2 separate regions of the Homo sapiens genome follow, and region 1 is linked to region 2. The links are contacts of gene promoters, found by promoter capture Hi-C in blood cells and fetal thymus (Javierre and others, 2016). All regions are on one chromosome and are shown on one strand. The core of a region is centred on a gene start or on the middle of the fragment in contact, and the rest is flanking DNA. Distances in the headings are between cores, read along the strand shown. Region 1 overlaps POLR1A (RNA polymerase I subunit A). Region 2 holds the start of TMEM150A (transmembrane protein 150A).

Region 1 (2,752 bases), core at 1-2,500, 480 kb after region 2:
CCACCTTGTGATGGGCCTGGCAGACAGCGGGACTGTCGCAGCGGCTGGAGTCTGAGAACCCGGACTGTCTACCCAAGGCTGCCTATTTGCATCCAGAGAGTACTTTAGAGCTGGGAAGGATCTTGATGACCTCAGCAAGCTTCCTGGGTGCCCAATTCACCTTTGTACCCACTGAACACCTACTAATTAACCCGGCACACAGATGGGGCTCAGGAAATGTTAGTTGAAACTGTCCTATTCTGAGAGGAATTTCCACTCTGCAATACTGCCTTCCTGACCCCAATGCTGGAGACATTAACGTGTCCAAAATAGAGCTGGCAACATGAGCTCTAGTACTGTGACCCAAAAGGGACACTCTTAAAGCCTGAGGGAAGTAGGCTATTCTTTCTAGAGCTGCGAGAGCTGGTAGCCCGGAACAGCCTAGGTGTGAAATCTCACCACAAATCACATGCACTTTATAGCAGACACTAGTATAAGGAAGTGACTCAACTAGGGTCACCTGGCATGGTCGTTCGGTGTAGAAGCTAGACCAGAACCCACACCTTTCCATGCTCAGACCCATGTGTGTCCCCCTAATGTTCCTAGGTGCCCCCTAAGCCCAGAGCTCACACTAAGGCTGCTGCCAGCTGCACAGAACATCCCAGGAAGCATCTCCCAGACCCAGTGTCTACATCCACAGCTCACAGAGTTAGCACTAAGCATGTGTGCTCATCACATCAGCAACAGAGCAGCCCTGACCTCATCTGTAGTGGGTGTGGCCACTTCCTCTGGCAACTTCTGTTCTTGGGCCATCAATGCCAGAAGTTTTCGAATCAGAACTACATCCTTCATGACAGCCTGCAAGTTCACCGTCTGGCCATTAGTAAACATCTGGTCTCCTAGGCGACTGACTGGGCGATACCTGCAGGGGGACATACGGAATAAATGAATGTTTAGTGTGAGGAAAGGGTCATGTTCTTCAGCCTCTCACCCATGCCTACTGTAGGGAGCACACCCCACCATGCTCAAAACAACCAACCTTCCTAACCAACATTCCGGCTGGGTGTGGTGGCTTAAGCCTGTAATCCCAGTACTTTGGGAAGCCATGGCAGGTGGATCACTGGAGGTCAGGAGTTCGAGACCAGCCTGGCCAACATGGTGAAACCCCATCTCTATGTAAAATACAAAAATTATTTGGGTGTGGTGGTGCGTGCCTGTAATCCCAGCTACTCAGGAGGCTGAGGTAGGAGAATCACTTGAACCCAGGAGGCAGAGGTTGCAGTAAGTCAAGGTCATGCCACTGCACTCCAGCCTGGGAGACAGTGCAAGACTCCACTTCAAAACAAACAAACAAAAACAACCAACATTCCTATTGCGTTCACAACAAACGGGAAGGAAAGCAAGCCCTCCCACCACCTGCACCTGGAGCGGAACTGCAGCTTTGTCTCTCAGTGCCCTTGGCCCTTTCACCTCTCCTAGAGGTCACATTTCAGTTCCTTAGTACGCTTTTTTTCAGGTGAAATAAGTTAATTAAAGGGTATTACCTTGAGGGCGGCACCACCAAGAAATCTAGAAAGAACACACTGGGATTGAATCTGGATTCCATACCATCATCATCCATTCCCGAAAAAAGGTAGTTCAGAAAGAATCCTGCGTTGGAAAGAAATAAACCAAGAAGACCATTTAAATCTATCACTAAGGGCATGGGAGGACAACCATAAAAATATTACTGAGTGAGGAAAAAACAGAATACAAGATAATATGTAGAGTTAAGGTCACAGTTTTCTTTTTTGAGAAAAGGTCTCACTCCTGTCGCCCAGGCTGCTGTGCAGTGGTGCGATCATGACTCACTGCAGCCTTGATCTCCCAGGCTTAGGCAATCCTGCCACCTCAGCCTTCCAAGTAGTTGGGACTACAGGTGCGTGCTATCATGTCCAGCTAATTTTTGTATTTTTTTTTTTAAGAGATGAGGTTTTGCTTGGTTGCCCAGGCTGGTCTCGAACTCCTGGGCTCAATTGATCCACCTGCCTCAGCCTCCCATATTGCTGTGATTGGAGGCATGAGCCAACGTGCCTGGCCTCATTTTTCTTTATAAAAACAAAAAATAGCCCCTGTGTACATGACAGTTTGTATGCAGGGGATATGATAGCATAAAAATGGGTACTACAGGGACAATAGCTCTTAAACCAGGGACTGAGATGGGCAAGGATGGGGAAGAAACTTCACTTGTTTTTAATCACCCTCCTGGACTATTAAAACACAGACAGCACACACATCATTACTTTGATCTTCATAAAAAATATGTTGAATAAAAAAATTTTTTTTTAAGTTAGCCTCCTCCCACCCCTAACAGTTACTGCCAAGAAAGGATCTTCTGTGGATCAAAGCTTTATTTCAGGTTTCTGGTTACTTTAAAAAATGCCTAGAGAAAAAGATTAAAATGTACTAGGGCCTGCCACAGAAGCAATCATACTAACTCCAGTGCTTTTTTTTTTTTCTGATACCTCTTTAACAACATGTTCATTTGTAAGCGCTTATTACACAGAGGTTATAGTCAGCGTTCCACAACATACTCTCACAAGGGCTTGAATATACTGCGTAGGTTTTGTTATACACTCAAAAGGAAAGAAGGATTTCCCTTATAGTAAAGTCCCAATTTAAATAAGACAGAGTTCATTCTTTGATTCACAGAAGGACAAAGCATTTTACTTACGGGCATTTAAAATAAGTTACACTGAACCTTCTAAAAATATGCCAACCTGTATTAAGTGAG
Region 2 (2,944 bases), core at 118-2,617:
AGTGAGGCTCAGGGTTGCAGTCTGGCTCGTGGCAGCCTCAGGCCCAAGAGGGGACAGAGATGAAGGAAGCTTTAGAGCAAGGTTGTCTGCAGAGTCCTTCATACCAGTTCTCCACAGGGCATACATGGTGGTTCATCACAGCCATGGCATACCTGTGGGAACAGAACTGTCACCCTGGCAGCCTTCCCGAGCCCCACTCAACCCACCCCATGACCCTTCTCTTCAACCTTGATTTCTGGCCCCATTCAGCCTCATTATTGTTGCTGGGGACTCAAGTTGAGGTCCCTAAGGCTTGATGCCACACCAGCACCTGCAGCATGCCCCCAGCTACAGGCCCTCTGGAAATTGCCCTGGCTAGAAGTATATTTGTCAGGGCCACCCTGCTGGACAGCAGTGGTGCCAGCTTGTCCCAAGGGGCTGTGTGCCCAGGCACCAAGTCAGGCTTTTGAGACACCCAGAGTGACCCTGGGTACCACCGTGGCTATGACAGGACAAGAGACTTTGTGTGCGTCATCAAGCTCCTGTTGCCCCCCGGGCACCCCCCTTTACTCACACAGTCCATATGCCAGTGATGGAGAACGCTGACAGGCTGACAGGCAGGAGGATCCAGGCGGTCATGAGGGAGGGGAGCCAGGGTGGTGGTGGTGTTGGGGGGAGGACAAGAGGTAGATGGGGAAGTGGGGGCGGACCAGCTACCTTGAGATGTTTCTGCCACAACCATCAGCTGTCCTGGCCTGGTGGAGAGAGATCAAAGTCCAGGAGTGGGTAACTGGCCGGGAAGGGGGAGGGGAAGGGGGTCAACACCTTATCCAGCGCTCCCGTTGGGTCTCTGAGCGTCCAAAGTTTGGGCTGAGCCCACGGCAGAACGTGAACACCCTCTGGCACTGGGGGCCTCCGCGGTCAACCCAAATGCCACCGGCGTGCTGAGAGACGCAGGCGGACCGTAACATCTGGAAGGGAGTTACCCTCCTTCTGAGGGACCAGGGCTGGGAGAAGGGCTGGACAACCGAAGAGGCCACGCCAAGGAGAGGCTGGGTGCCGGCCCAGTGGAGCGGTGGCGAGTCGGCGGCGCGCAGGCAACCACCTGACCATCGGCGCCCTGGGCGAGGGGCGGGTTCACGCGGAAAGCCCAGCCCGGCCCGGCCCCCGCTCGCCTGGGCGCGGGGACCCCGGCTGGGGCCGGACCCTGCGGCCGGCGACCCCCCAGGACCCGGGACGCGAGAGTCCCCAGGTGATTCCTGGAAGCCCGGAGGAAGGGAAGGAGCCCAGTACGCACCTCCCCGGAGCGCCCCGCCGCCGCCGCACCCTGCTCGGCCCCCTCGTGGCGCCGACTCTAGCTGCGGCCCTCGGAGCAGCCCTGAAAGGTTTAAAGGGCCGAGCGGCCCCGCCCCTGGAGGCCCCAGGCCTCGCCGCGCCGCCCGCCGGGACGTGGAGTCCGCGCAGCCCCGGCCTCGGTGCCCGCGCCCTGCCCGAGACTACAACTCCCGAGCCCCCGCGCCCGCGTCACGGGGGAAACGTGGGCGGTGTCCCAACTTCGGAGGACCTGGGCGCGGAGGGCTGTGGCGTGAAGACCGCTCTAAAACCGAGATGACTAGAGGTTCCGTTTAACCGATTCCTGCCGGGGAAGCGTCAGCAGGTGGGGATCTCGGGGCAGCCTGCATTCCAGCTCTACCTGGGATTGTCGCCGTGCACATGGCTGGAGGAGCGTCTCTCCGCCACTGCGCACATTTTGCAGCCTGCACCGGCCAACGGTGAGTCCTCTAGGAAGCTCTCTCAACGTGGCGCCCCATGCCTGCCTCTGGCCAGGGCTGCGGTGGGTCCAGAGAAGCAGACACAAAGACTTGGCTGTTTCTTAAGAAATCCAAGCGCCTGGGATTTGGCTTATGGTTCCTGTGGCTCAGCAAACTCCGGAGGAGGGCTGCTTTCATTAGATACTTTTTGCTTTCCTGCATACAAGTACACAATGTACTAGCCAGAAATCAGTGTCCAAGACGTGTTTCCCGACTGATCAACACTTATTTGAAATAAGACGGCAGAGACCAGAGGACATCCATTCTAAATAGACACATGTAGGTGTCAGTGTAGAGTAGGTAAGGATTAACATGGCCAGTGTTGGTAAGCAAAGAGGGGAAGGTGAGAGACCCGGAGGAATCTGGGAAAAGGAAACAGGATAGTGTGGGAAAAATTACTGACCAGCTTCACCAAAAACTTACAGGCTATGAGTGCATTCCTGGATGTTTCTTTTTTTTTTACTTTTTCTTTTTCTTTTTTTTTTTTTTGAGACGGAGTCTCGCTCTGTCGCCCAGGCTGGAGTGCAGTGGCGCGATCTCGGCTCACTGTAAGCTCCGCCTCACGGGTTCACGCCATTCTCCTGCCTCAGCCTCCCGAGTAGCTGGGAACTACAGGCGCCCGCCACCTCACCCGGCTAATTTTTTTGTATTTTTAGTAGAGACGGGGTTTCACCATGTTAGCCAGGATGGTCTCGATCTCCTGACCTCGTGATCCGCCCGCCTCGGCCTCCCAAAGTGCTGGGATTACAGGCGTGGGCCACTGCGCCTGGCCCGGATGTTTCTTAAATTATTGCAAGGGTGGAAATACTTTCACATATCAGAAGTGTGCCTGGCATTCTGTCTCAAAGGCGGTCCCAGCATCTGTTGGAGCCCTTGTGAGATGACAGATCATCACCTGAATGGTGCACAGGCGCAGGTTGCCCAGCGTGGGGAGCTGAAGTTTGGCAACACTGGTGAGGCAAAGGCTATGTGAAACAACAGGGTCCTGTGCTTTAGAGAAGTAGAGCAGAATAAACTGCACAATGACTTGAAGAGGGAGAAACCTTCTTGGACCCAGTGGAAAGCAGAAATGGAAGCAGAAAACCTGTTGGAGAGCCCTTTTTCTTTTGAGACAGAGTTTCACTTGTTGCCCAGGCTGGAATGCAATGGTGCAA

What was found. The method cuts DNA at HindIII sites, captures the fragments that hold promoters and counts their contacts. A CHiCAGO score of 5 or more calls a contact.
Region 1: a contact is called between a fragment that was not itself captured here and the fragment with the promoter of TMEM150A in region 2, in 4 of 17 cell types (monocytes, fetal thymus, erythroblasts and 1 more). The highest score is 7.6, in monocytes.

The regions. Positions count from the first base shown.
Region 1 is chr2:86,080,078-86,082,829 of GRCh38, forward strand. It overlaps POLR1A (RNA polymerase I subunit A), which reads right to left. Exons shown (of 34, transcript NM_015425.6): 8 at 1,524-1,629; 9 at 739-901. Among named protein-coding and RNA genes, the nearest start is that of POLR1A, 24 kb to the right of the region's middle. The HindIII fragment of the contact is 2,227 bases long and covers 138-2,364 here.
Region 2 is chr2:85,601,331-85,604,274 of GRCh38, forward strand. It overlaps TMEM150A (transmembrane protein 150A), which reads right to left and starts at 1,368. Exons shown (of 8, transcript NM_001031738.3): 1 at 1,277-1,368; 2 at 554-734; 3 at 105-152. The coding sequence starts at 618. It also overlaps a transcript of USP39 not described here. RefSeq lists silencers at 838-897, 998-1,577. The HindIII fragment of the contact is 3,378 bases long and covers 68-2,944 here.